Linked DNA regions of Homo sapiens: all the other regions are linked to region 3. Evidence: promoter capture Hi-C in human tissues and cell types (Jung and others, 2019). All regions are on one chromosome and are shown on one strand. Each heading gives the region's core, a stretch centred on a gene start or on the middle of the fragment in contact. The rest is flanking DNA. Distances are from core to core; before and after follow the strand shown. Region 1 has its middle 31 kb from the start of TUSC3. Region 2 overlaps SGCZ (sarcoglycan zeta). Region 3 holds the start of SGCZ (sarcoglycan zeta).

Region 1 (4,816 bases), core at 178-2,677, 270 kb before region 3:
CCATTCATTTAGTACTTCTTTTTTTTTTGAGACTGTCTTGCTCTGTCGCCCAGGCTGGAGTACAGTGGCGCAATCTTGGCTCACTGCAATGTTCGCCTCCCAGGTTCAATCAGTTCTTCCTTCCTCAGCCTCCCAAGTATCTGGGATTATAGGCACCCACCACCACGCCCGGCTAATTCTTTTATTTTTAGAAGAGTTGGGGTTTTACCATATTGGCCAGGCTGCTCTCAAACTCCTGACCTCAAGTGATCTGCCCATCTTGGCCTCCCAAAGTGCTGGAATTACAGGCGTGAGCTACTGCACCCAGTCCTTTCTTATACACCTTTTATCAAATTTATCTGTATTTAGTATTTTTGGTGCTATTATAATTGGTGGTATTGTGTTTAAAATTTAAGGTTCTGACTGTTCATTGCTAATATAGAGAAATACAATACATTTTTGTATATTGACTTTGAGTTCTTCAACCTTGCTAAATTCACATATTTCTAGTAACTATTTTGTATATTCCATCACATTTTCTATTTATATGCATAATCATATCATCTACCAAAACTACAGTTTTGCTTTCTCTTTCTTCTATTCCAATCTGGATTTCCTTTCCTCACCTCCCTCCCTCCCTTCCTTCCTCCTTCCTTTCTTCCCTTCCTCCCTCCTTCTACTGGAGAGAAATTCATTCCAGCACTATACTGAATAGGAGTAGTAAGAGTGAACCTTCTTGACCTGTATTTGAACTTATGGGAGAAAGCATTCATGTTTTCACCATTAAGTTTGGTATTAGTTTTAAGTTTTGGGTTTTGTTTTTTGGGGGGTGTCCTTTATCGGGTAGAGGACGTTATCTTCTATTCCTAGCTTGCCAAATGTTTTATCCGCAGTGGATCTTGAATTTTCCAAAACATTTTTCTGCTTGTATGGAAATCAATAAATGGTTTTCCTTTTTAGTTTGCTAATAAGGTAAATGGCATTCACTGATTTTTCAACAAGTAAACCAATCTTGCATTCTACACATGAGCCCTCTGCCAATTTTAAAGTGATTCCATACACTGTTAAATTAAATTTGCTAACATTTTGTTTCGAATGTTTGTGTCCATAGTCATGAGGGATATTTGTCTTTCTGTTTTTTTTTAAATAGTATCTTGGTTTTGTAATGAGAGTAACACTGACTTCATGGAATAAGAAAGCATTCCCCGCTCTTAAATTTTCAGGAACAGTTTGTGTAAAATTGGTGTCATCTCCTCCTCAAATGTTTGATCAGATTTATCAAGAGAGCCATCTGGGCCTGGAGTTTTCTGTGTGGGAAGGTTTTTAACTACAAACTGATATTTAAAAAAATATATATAGTGTTGGGGTTGTCTGATTCTTCCTGGGTGAGCTCCCGTAATTATCTTTTATGTATTTGTGTATTTCACATAAGTTGTGAATTTACTGCATGCATTTATATATAATATTTCCTCATTATCACTTTAGCACCTGTAATTTCTGTAGTGATGTCATTGCTCTCATGTCTGATATTGGTAATTGTACCCTCTCTTCTTTCCCTGATCAGTCTTTTTAGAACTTTATCAATTGTATTGATCTCATAAAGAACCAGCTTCTGGTTTTACCAATTCTTTTCTTTTTCCCTTTTTTCTTTTAGGTTTTCTATTGCATTGGTTTCCACTTTGATTGTATCTATTTTTCTCCTTCTTTTGGCTTTAATTTGCTTTTCATTTTCAAGATTTGCAAATGTATTAATCTAAAGGCACTGATTTTAGATCTTTCTTCAGTGGTGTGATCATAGCTCACTGTAACCTTGAACTCTTGGGCTCAAACAATTCTTCCCCCTCAGCCTCCCAGGGAGCTAGGACTACAGTTGTGCACCTCCATGGCTCGCTATTTTTCTTTTTATTTTTTGTAGAGATGAGGTCTTGCTATGTGGCTCAGGCTGCTCTCAAACTCTTGGCCCCAAGCAATACTCCTGCCTAGGCCAACCAAAGCTTTCTGGATTCTCCTGGTAAGCATTAGATAACTGGGGAAATAACTTATTAAAATTTCAAAAATACATATTTTGGTCAACTAATATGCAAGAAAACAGTCTCCTCATAGATTCACATTCATCTCACTTACAGATTATTGTATTAGGCCAGTTAATGGATAGGGATGTAATATGAGCTTCAAAATCATCTGCATTTAGAGATGAATAGGTAAAGTCCAAAATATTAAGAAGTACAAAGCTACAGTTAAGACTACAAATTTGTCACGCTAATACTTAATCCAATGTTTCTGTGCTATTTTATTATGATTTTTTTTTTTGAGATGGTGTCTCACTCTGTCTCCCAGGTTTGAGTGCAGTGGCACAATCTCGGCTCACTGCAACCTCAGCCTCTGGGATTCAAGTGACTCTCCTGCCTCAGCCTCCCGAGTAGCTGGGATTACAGGCGCCTGCCACCTCACCTAGCTAATTTTTATATTTTAGTAGAGATGGGATGTCACCATGTTGGCCAGGCTGGTTTCGAACACTTGACCTCAAGCAATTTGCCTGCCTTGGCCTCCCAAAGCGTTCGGATTACAGGCATGAGCCATCACGTCTGGCCTTTATTATGATTTTGAATTTCACGTAGCATTCAGTTAAAAAAGTTAAGGAAACTAACTTAGATGGCTGTGGTTTAATTTATTGACAAGAGCATCAAGAAAGAAGAAAAGACTATCATCTCCAATATTTGCTCTTCTGTACTCTGTTGTTGGAAAACAATGTGGATTCTTAGCAGAGCAAAAGACTGCATCCTTACTTGGGTCCTTACTGTTCCTCAGCTATTCTTTTTTCTCTCTCCCCCTCAGCTTCTTCTCTCATTCCTCAAAGCAGTTCATTCACACCCTTCAACACTTCCCTCTCATTCTGAGCTGAAGATCTTATCTTGAATTATAACTCTACCAGGCGCAACTTCTGGAACCTGAGACAGTTATATAACTTTCTAAACTTTCAAATTCCTATTTGGTAAACTGGAGACAGTAATAATGCCAACCCTACATGGAAGAATTAAGGTAATATATTACAAGCTGTTGACAGAGTGAGTAGCAGAGTAAGCTCAATACACTTTGGTTTTTGTTATCTTTATTAATGCCTACTTTTTTTCCTATTCCACTTAAAAAGGAAGCTTCAGGACAGGTGCGGTGGCTTACGCCTGTAATCCCAGCACTTTGGGACGCCCAGGCGGGTGAATCACAAGGTCAGGAGACTGAGACCATCCTGGCTAACACGGTGAAACCTGGTCTCTACTAAAAATACAAAAAATTAGCCGGGCATGGTGGCAGGCGCCTGTAGTCCCAGCTACTCGGGAGGCTGAGGCAGGAGAATGGCACGAACCCGGGAGGCGGAGCTTGCACTGAGCCGAGATGGCGCCACTGCACTCCAGCCTGGGCAACAAGAGAGACTCCTTCTCAAAAAAAAAAAAAAAAAAAAAAAGGAAGCTTCGATTCCTAAACTACCTCAAAGTTACCTAGACATTTATCTATAATCTCTCTAAATCCAATGTCCTTTCTCCCTCCCTGAGATCTTGTCATTCATTTCTCTTGTTCTTCACCTCAGTTAATAGGATATCACATCCAACAAAATTTTTTATTACCCATAATTTGTCCAGAGCAAGGTTTTGTTTTGTTTTTTGTTTTTGTTGTCATTGTTGTTAGACAGAGTCCCACCCTATCACCCAGGCCAGAATGCAGTGGCGTGAAATCGGCTCACTGCAACCTCTGCCTCCCGGATTCATGCAGATTCTCCTGCCTCACGTTCCTGAGTAGCTGGGACTATAGGCACACCACCACACCTGGCTAATTTTTGTATTTTTAGTAGAGACGGGTTTCCCCATGTTGACCAGGCTGGCCGTGAACTCCTGGCTTCAAGTGATCCACCCACTTCGGCCTCCCAAAGTGCTGGGATTACAGGCCTGAGCTACTGCATCTGGCCTCAGAGCAAGTTTTGACTCATCTTTCGTTATTTTGGCTCAAGTTTTACCTCCTCTATTTAAATGTGCCCACCTTCACTCCTTTCCATCTGACTGTACCTCTTGGGGAGGCCATTAATCTTTTTTTGTTCACTTTGCCTTTTTTTTATTTAACTATAGTTTTTTCCTTACATCATCCTCTCTCTCTCTTTTCCCAAGTAGACTGTTAAAGAGTACAAAGACTTCTATTAGTTGAATTTCCAATACCTATCAAGTTCTCAATACTTAGTGCTCATAACATATTTTTGTATTTTGTATTTTGTATAACATATTTTGTATATGGGAGGTTTCCGAAATCATCCTGATTTACATCTTTATAGATTCTTTTGACTTTAGAAGACCTTTAATTAACATTTAAAAATTGATAAAACTCAAAAAAGGGAGAGACTCCTGATTTTCCTTAATTATAGAAATTAGCTAGAATCTGAAAAATACAAAAAAAGATGCTTTTCCATGTATTTTTCCAGTTAACTATCTGCCTTTTAGCAAATATTCCACTTTCAACTGTGCAGTTCTTTATTAAGAGGATTTTGATAAGGCATGAACTATAAAGGGATCAAAGTTGTATATATGAGAGATAGCTGAAAAAATAATAATAAGTAACTTTCCTCTTCCTCTAATTAAAAAGGACCCTGAGGCCAAGGAATTAAAATATGCAACAGGACAAACCATGTTTTTAAATGTAAAATACAGGAACAATGTCACTTTGTTTCTTTTAATGAATGCAGAGCCAAGTTCCTCTATAGTTTGGACTATGGAGGGCAAGGGGGAGCTCCCCTTGGCCCTCTGAAGGCTGGCCAAAAAAATCAACTTACAGAAGGCAAGTTAATTGGAGAAAAAAC
Region 2 (4,612 bases), core at 2,013-4,512, 330 kb after region 3:
AGAAACAGAAATAGTGTAAGCAGTAGTTTATTAGAATAGTACTAATATTTTAAAACCTGTTGACCTGTGCAAAATCCATTTATCATTGCAGTATAGAGATAAAATATTACTTATATTAATTTTTATTATTTAGACTTTCAAGGCTTTATTTGAATTTCCATGTAGAGATAAGATGTGTCTTGTTTCTGAACCTAATTAATACTTGAGGAAATAAATGAAAGGAATAGATTGAAAGAGGTAAAAATGGTAATCATATATTCATATATATAAATATTTTTAAACAAGCACTATTTTATGGTCCTAGGTGTGTACATTTCAAGATATATTCTCATTGTAACAAATTACTTCATTAATTAGTAAAGCACTCTGCAGCCAGATTTTATTATGGGAATTCAAGATACATTTCTCAGTGAAGTATTTATCATTTCTGAAATTTTATTTTTATAAAAATTGTATTTGGTTTTTAAATTAACTAGTGATTGGTAGCCCAGGTTTAGCTTTCTAGGATTATATGGCTGACACGAAGCTATATATTTTTTTCTTAGTTACCAAATACTTTCTTCAGTGTGCAGCTGCTCTTGATTCAATAGCTATTTAATGTCCTAGATTTCTTTTGATGCTGTCTTTTCCTAAGAAAAATAGGCATTGGTGTCTGCGTATTCCAAGGAAATATGGAGATCAGTAAATCAGTCAGAATCCGCTGATTTTGTTGGGATTTAGTAGACAGGAGGTAGATTTGAAATGTGAGTCATTAGGTTCTAATGAAGCCAGATGTGGACACCATGGTGATTACTTTGACAATTTGAATTACAGCCCTGCCACAGCCATTATCTGCTTACTCTGTTTTCTCTTAAAAGGTGAAAACTAAACCTGAGATGTGTCAGAGGAGTCAAAATGCTTCTTTTCTCATGAAGACAGTTTATAAAAATAGTAAAGCACATATGCAGAAGCATCCCTTTAATATATGACATTATACTCAAAGTAAGGATGTGTATTATTCGTGAAAAAATGAGTGATATGATTGTTAGAAGTGTGATAATTGTTCTGGGGAATAGATTGTAGAATATGTTTGTTAGTATATCTACTTTAAGGTCACTGATTAAGCTTATATATCTTCTAGGATGTATTCAACTTTTGCTTCTGAAAAAGCCATCTGGTTTTTAATAAGAATATGAATGTACAATATAAGCCAAGCTGAATAATTTCTTAAATGTATTATGAGGCATAAAATGACATCATTGTCTTCCTATTTTCATAATAGGTATAATAAAAATATATAAATTTGAAGAAATTTTGGGCAAAGTGCTTTAAAAGAATCAATAGCTCATTTTATTTTTACTTTACCGATGTTTTCTGTTAATGTCCATCATAAAATATCAGTGTATACCCAAAAAATGAACTAGAATTCTAGATTCAAATATTAAGAAAATATTAATGTTAAGAAAAATGGTTTATCAATACCAGCCAGAATTTTGGGAATGTTTTTAACAAATGTTTATGTACATTTAAAAAAAACAGATTTCAAGATTTACTAAATTTAAGATTTAATAAATTTAGTAAGATTTCAAATTTACTAAAAATAAGTTTTAGGTAAATGCTACAAACACTGAGTTAAGCCATTTTTAAGTTGTTTCCTGGTGTCCTTATGTATTAAATGGTACTGTGAGAGATGTTTAATAAATTTTAATTAACTGACTAAATATATATCAATGTGTATTGGTGAAAATCATTATAAATTAGAGAAATACTGTTTTAACCAACTGGGAATTATCCTTATCAAATTTAACAAATGATTAAATGAGTAGATGGAAGATATGTTACTGGTTTTGAAGATGGTACAAGCCTTTGAAGACTAAATAGGGTCATAAGTTTTATAGAATGCAACATCTCAAATAAGGTGAAATGTAATTATGATAAACTTACAGTTTTATATTTAGATAAGACAGCTTCTTATTAAAGCACAGGGTGGGGGACATAAGTGGCTAGATAGAGGCCAATGCATTAAAAATGGAGAGATTAACTGAAAAGTTCTCTTATGGGATGATAGAGTTAAATGGTTAAAATATAGTACAGTTTTTGGCTAAGCATAGAAATATGCTGTGCAAAATATGAGTTTCCACTATATAGCTACACTGGTCAAAGAACACCATGGAGAGTTGTTGGTTTCTGGATGACAGAATTGAGGGACACTTTTAACTAGTAGATGGACAAACCAGAGTGCTTTGAAGAGAATGAGGTATAATAAATTTTAAATAGCTGAATAAACATCTCCAAATTGGTGTTGATGCAAACCAGGCTGAGTTATTGGTTAGAACTATGCCTTATAATTAAAATTCCCATATTTCCAAACTAAAAATTTGACATATTATTTACTAAAAGACTTAAATATTTATGTTAAACTTATTGAAAGCCTAACAAATCATATTGATTTATAAAATTTACTAAAAAATAGTATGACGTAATATAAGACTTGGGAATGGTTAGCACAGATAAATCAGACACAGATAATTTAAGATAACCTCTTAAGATTTTAAAAGAAAAAGAAACAAAATTTATATAAAAAGGCAGAATTCTATTCAGTAAGAGAAATACGTTGTAACGTTAAAACACGAAATTAATTAAAGACAGTGAAGTTCACACCAAGAAAAATATGTAAACACTTCAAAAAAGGAATTATTTAAAAGGGATGTATTTGGCCAGGTAGACAACTGGATTTAGAGGATTTTTCGATAGCTTCACAATCTAACAAGTCATAATTTGAGGACAGGTGAATGCATGTAACAAGCCTCCTTTAATTTGGTCTCTGCTAATTGAAAATTATAGTAATTGATATAAGGAGTGGGCTGGATGTTAAAGTAAAATGATTAACTGAATGGATTAATAGTGTAAACTAGATGAGATACTTAATCAACTTGATGCACATGATTTGCAAACCTCTGCTTAATAATTTTGGAAAAATTGACTCATCATTAGAGTCCCGATTTTATGTCAAGCATTGTCCCAGGTGTTAGGAGAGAAATAATGACATAAAATACATAGGCATAATTATAGAGATAAGTTTAATCTGCAAGAAAAACATTTGGTGAACCTAATACAATGCACTTTGAAATTAAATAACAAACTATTCGTCGCATATAAATGCAGTAAGAATTCTAGGAATTCAGAATATCAGAAACTTTGTATCTCTGACATATTAATATTTTTTATAGTGAATTAGGTTCTCTGAATCTCTCTCTCTTTTTTTTTTTTTTTTTTTTGCAACGGTGACAGATCACCAGGCTGGAGTACAGTGGCCCGATCTCGGCTCACTGCAAGCTCCGCCTCCCAGGTTCCAGCGATTCTCCTGCCTCAGCCTCCTGAGTAGCTGGGATTACAGGTGCCTGTCACCACGCCCGGCTAATTTTTGTGTATTTAGTAGAAATGGGGTTTCACCATGTTGGTCAGGCTGGTCTCGAACTGCTGATCTCGTGATCCTCCCACCTGGGGCTCCCAAACTGCTGGGATTACAGGCGTGAGCCAGTGCACCTGGCCAGTTCTCTGAATCTTAACAAAAATCTGTAACTTGCCCATTTATCTATTTCTTTGTTTATTATACCCCTTGGTAGAATACAGTCTCATGGAGACTCTGCCATGTGCCTAGTGTCTGCTATACAATGGCCACTAGGTAAATATTTGTTGAATAATTGAACTTTTTCCCCTCATTTTCAAAACAAGGACCATACCTGTGTCTCCAAGTTTACTGAACATTTTGCGGACCAATTGAGGTAATTTAGATAAAAATGATTTAGAGAAATTTGCCATAATGCCTAAAAATATTATATAATTGTCACAAATTATTCCCATCAACTCATCAAAGAGACAGAAAAGGTTCTATTAACTACCTTTTTTGCCCTGACTTTAGATATGCTACATAAGTAACAAAACCAGAAATTTTTATTTTCAGTGGTTTCTATGTATCTGTTTCTGACCAAAAAGAAAAGAAAAAGCATACCAATTTCACATGATTCAACCTAATATGTAATTTTTCCTTGTTCAGACTGCCCTTTCTAAAATGCATTAGTTAATTATACTGTACTATTAATAACTATTCTTTCTCCTCAAATGGTTATTTGTTCTTGGTTGTATACATCCTAAATATTATTTTGGATGTACTTGGTATGTTTTAATAGTAGGGTTGAAATAGGTGGAATTAGCGCTTCTTTGCAGAAAAGTTAGTGAATTGTGGCTCATTTCTGTGCATGTAGCTTATATAGGTTGTAGTGTAGAGAGAGAGGGAAGACAACCCTAATGGACGCACTCAATTTTTATTCTTTATTTTATTTTTTGAGTCAGGGTCTTACTATGTTGCCCAGATTGGACTTGAACTTCTGGCCTCAAGCAACACTCCTACCTTGGCTTCCCAAAGTGCTGGGATCACTGTTGTCCAGCCTTTATTCTTTATTAAGAATAGTTAGTTATTGGAGGCATTTAGCTCCTCCAATAGTTGAAGCGGCACTTCTTAATAGTTAACTGAGGCTGGGAGCAGTGGCTTATGCCTGCAATTCTAGCACTTTGAGAGGCTGAGGCAGGAGGATCACTTGAGCCCAGGAGTTGGAGACTAACCTCGGCAAGA
Region 3 (4,412 bases), core at 338-2,837:
TGGAAAGACTTGACTTTCAAAAGCCTATGTATTAGGTTGGTGCAAAAGTTATTGTGTTTTCTGCCATTACTTTCAGTGGCAAAAACTGCCATTACTTTTGCATCATCCTAGTAGTTATCTTTGTTCATGTTGAATTGTTGATACTTTCTAGAAGAGAAGCTCTTTTTTAGAGTTAAAAGTCTTATATAAGTTCATCTACTCTCAGCCTGAACCTTTATTATTTTTCATCATATATTATGCAAAATAATTATGTCTTATAAGCACATGAAGTTTATTTTGAGAATCTGATGTTTGGCCCTACTCATTATGGACTTTTGGCTACTTGATGTTAATCTTAAAAGCTGTAGTCAGAAGTCAAAGTTTGAAAGAAAGATAGCTTAGGCAAGTGCATGGAATAGACTAGGCTTAAACTAATGAAATGGACATCCTCCATGAGAAAGCTGAGCCCTCCAGGCTTAGCTGCAAAGTAGAAGGAGAAAAACTGGGATGTGCTCCATTGGTGCCGGTGAGGGGAGGAGGGGAGTCATCAGGGTTTCAGACATTAGAATATTAACTGTAAAGGTTTCTTTCCACACATTTATCTGTTCCATGCACATTTGTGTGCTTATTAGCTGCTTGGCTCTTGGGACATTTGGTGAATAAGAACCGTCCAGAACATGCCTTCAAGAGTTTATAGTCTATTGGAGGAGTCAAACAAACAAACGGATAATAACAGCATACATTAAATAATGGTAAATTAAGAATGCTGCTACGACAAGAGGATAAAGGAGAATATCTGACAGACTCACCTGAGAAAAATTTTTCTCTGCTCAGGTGACTTTAGTCAGAAGCAGAAGTGTTAAAACTATAAAGAACTAGGGGGAGAGACAGCTGTCCTTAACGAGGGGGCAAGAATGGGAATTAAAGAGCCAGTACTGGCAGGTGGACCAATAGACTAGGTGGCTGGAATTCAGGGAGGCAGAGGACGGAGATGATGTTAGAGAGAGACCATGAGACTGGAATGTGCATATTAAATCCTAAAAAAAGAAACACTTTTTTTTTGAAACAAAAGTATTTATACAGCTCTGTTTCCAAATCTGTAAACATCTTTAAGTCTCAATAGTTTATGTGTCATAATAAAACAAGAGTCTTTAAAACGCTTCAAAAGTCAAGTTTTACACTGAGACATTTAAATGAAGAAAACGAGCCCTTTCCCCAAATCTACAACCTACAAGTTAAATGCACTGACCTGTCAGAATCTATGTAAAGAACAATTTTCTAATAAAAGACTGCTTTATCATAAGAAGCATCGTTCCAGGAAATTTCCTTTAATATTCTTATCTGTCACTTTCTATAAAAGTCTTTTTTAAATTAAAAAATCTGATGCTGAAAGCAGCAGAGATCTGAAGTGAGTATATTTAAATACATGTGGGTGATACACACAAGCATGTTCCTCCCAGATCTGCAGGAAGATGAAGCAATGTACGCAATGAATTAAAATGATTGTCACCTAGTGGATTCCGGACACAGGGCAGGCTTTAAGACCCAGCGATAGTATTTGTCTGGAGAGGAAATGTTGCTTTTTGACAGATGAGAGAAATCCCCTTAGTGTTGGCTGTGGGAAGAGAGAAGCGAAGTCAGTCACCTGGTGGTGAAGGCCAGTAAAACAGCGAAGCAGGAGGAAAATTTTTCTCTCCCTCTCTCTTTCTCTCCCTCTTTTTCTCTCCGTTGGATCCACCTCCTATTCCCTCAACTCTTTTAGCATAACCTTCAAAGGAGAACGTTCCCTTCTGACTTGATTATCTTCTTTTCCCCACTGAGAAAATACCTCTCAGCTACAAGACATTTTTTAAGTCTATGCAGGACTTCGGGGATTCTGTTATCTTGCCGGGGAAACTGATCATTGCTAATGCCTGGGACTGGAGCTAAATTACCTACCAGAGTAAGCCTGACGGAGGAAGCCTTTTATCATACACTCTTCTCTTCAGTTTGAACACATTTGCTTGAAATTTGCCGCATGATGCTGACCAGGGAAGCAGCTTTTTTTCTCGGGATGCAGCAATTCGCTGGGTTCTAAGCTTATTGCAGAAGAAGAAATAATCTTAAATAGAGTGGATTTTTTTTTCCTTTTTTCTTTTGGCCCCTGTTTCAATCGACTCAGCTGTGTTGCACCGCGGTAGAGATCACCTGTCACTAAATCTTTGAGGAAGTAAAATAAAGTGAATTATCATTATTATTTATTTATTTTCCTTATTTTTAACCCGGTGGAGGCGGCGTGACCACGGAGAATGAGACTGAGAGGAGCTGCCGGGGCTTGGAGGAGGATAAAGCTGAGTTTAAGCTGGAAACTAAAAGACTAGATTGTTTTTGGGTGCCACTCGCCCGGTTCCTCTCCACTTCGTTTAGTTGCGCTCCATGGACAGATCAACGAACCTGGACATTGAGGAGCTCAAGGTACGTGCGGGTCCGGGCGGGCTTCGCGGCCGCTTCTCGGCGCTCCCTGCTCTCCCCTCTCCTTCCCGCGGCTCCTCCAGCGGCGCGGAGTAGTTGGTGGTCCCGCGGGACGACGAGGGGGCGTTGGGGGGACGCGCACCCGGGCGCAGGCGCCCCTGCTGGGGCCGAGGACACGGAGGGTGGTTCTCCCGAGCCAGGCTGCACTCCCGGGCTGGGCGCCCTCCCCGCCTGCTCCTCCCGCCAGCGGCCACCCCGTCCTCCTCCTGGTCCGTGACGGCAGCATTTGGGGTGCAGACCCTGCGCCTCTTGCCGGCTCGTCTCCCCGGGGGGGGCAGCGGCACCAGCTCTGCCCGCTGTCGCCTGCTTTCCCAGCAAAGTTGTCCGAGCTGCGCCGCCACTTTGCCTCCTCTTCCCGGCTCCGATCCCGCCTGTGCCCCAGCCCGGCACGGGGACAGTGCATTTCCGCTCGGAGATTCGCGTGACAGAGGCATCTGCAACGACAGCCCGTTTTTATCCCAGAACTTCGTGAGACCCCTTTTCCCTCCCACCGCCCGCGGGCAGTGTTTCCTCCCGCAGTTGCAGTGCAGGGGCTGGAGAGGTACCCCCGCTGCCGGGGACGGCTAGCCTGCCCTAGCCCCAGGCGCGGGAGCAGGTCCGGGGACTCGGGCAGGGGGCGGGGAGGCGGGAGCCGGGCTGGTAGGGGCGGCATCTGCGGAGGCTCCGGCCGCACACGGTCTCCCACCAGCCTGGAGCCCCCCGCCGCTCCGCGGGTTCCCCGCGCCGCGCCCTCTCCCTCTGGGGTCCCCTGCTTGGCCGTGAGGGCCTGCCCGGAGGGAGCATCCGGGGTGACAACGCGCCCCTCTGCCTATGGGCACCTCTGCCTGCTTCCCTTCAAGAAAAAAAAATATATATATTTATATACACACAATAAATAAAAACTTTAAAAAACCAACAAACCACAAAATACTTTAAATGTCCCGCTCACCGTAAACGAAAAAGCGGGAAAGGGGGCGACACTGGAAGCACCTCTTTTATTGAAATCCTCCACCCTTCTTTACCCCTAGGCATTTGGTACGTTCTACTATTTCAGAGGTTCAGATGGATTCTGGCTTCTTTGATCAGTGAGAATGTTTAGGCACCCCCCCACCCGCTGGAGAAACGACGAATAGAGGTTTGCCCTGAAATGTCAAGGAAATGGGTTTATCCGACAAGCTAGGCAGGCTGCAAAATCCCCTGCAGAGCTCCAAAGCCTCTGTCTGCAGCCTGTCCTGTGCCCTGGCCAGGGGGCACGCAGGAGCCCAGTTCTCCAGGCGCCCCAGATTGCATAGACGGGGAAGGAAGGAGGGACAGAGAACAGTGGCGCCTGCCAGAATCGCCCTGCCACTGACTGTAGATGCAGTCCAGGACGGAGGGAGGACAGTGAGAAGACCTAGAACACCACTTCCACCGAAGACTGAGTTCCCTGGGCAAAGGGAAGTAGGGAGGAGGCAGATTTGATGCTTCGTTTAAAGTTGGCCAACAAGTTTCTGTGTTTTTGCCAAGATCATAGTCAGTAGACCTTGGCCTGGGCTAGAAGTTTCCTCTTATCTCTCTGCTCTACTCCGATAGGACACATTGCCTTTATGTTTGCAAAGATTCCCTACTTCTCTTTCCCAAGCATCCCAGTCTCTTGGGAGAAGGGGTAGGTTTTATCTGAGATGCGAAGAAGAATGTATGATAATGATTGTGATCTGTGTTTTATGCAGAGGTGGAGTATCCAGATTATTTTTTGGTTAACTTTAGGGTATGACACAGAAGAGAGCGTTCTGTTAAGAGAAATGGAAGGGAGAAATGATTTGGGGTGATTCTTTCCCCTGAAATCCCTTTAGTTTCCTAGCTTATCCCACTCTGAACCCCAGTGCCAATACATTGTTGTTTAAATCAGCAAAAGAGCAAACCCACTGGGGAAACTTATGTCTAGAATTAGTAGAAGATCTCAG

Evidence for each region. Contacts are between HindIII fragments. The study calls those that stand out against the background at their distance.
Region 1: a contact is called between a fragment that was not itself captured here and the fragment with the promoter of SGCZ in region 3, in 2 of the 25 tissues and cell types used here (dorsolateral prefrontal cortex and hippocampus).
Region 2: a fragment that was not itself captured here is called in contact with the fragment with the promoter of SGCZ in region 3 in 2 of the 25 tissues and cell types used here (dorsolateral prefrontal cortex and hippocampus).

The regions. Positions count from the first base shown.
Region 1 is chr8:15,507,081-15,511,896 of GRCh38, reverse strand. It overlaps a transcript of TUSC3 not described here. Among named protein-coding and RNA genes, the nearest start is that of TUSC3, 31 kb to the left of the region's middle. The HindIII fragment of the contact is 6,907 bases long and covers 1-4,816 here.
Region 2 is chr8:14,907,389-14,912,000 of GRCh38, reverse strand. All of the region lies in intron 1 of SGCZ (sarcoglycan zeta), which reads left to right. Among named protein-coding and RNA genes, the nearest start is that of MIR383, 56 kb to the right of the region's middle. The HindIII fragment of the contact is 6,182 bases long and covers 172-4,612 here.
Region 3 is chr8:15,235,606-15,240,017 of GRCh38, reverse strand. It overlaps SGCZ (sarcoglycan zeta), which reads left to right and starts at 1,587. Exons shown (of 8, transcript NM_139167.4): 1 at 1,587-2,433. The coding sequence starts at 2,395. The HindIII fragment of the contact is 17,338 bases long and covers 1-3,694 here.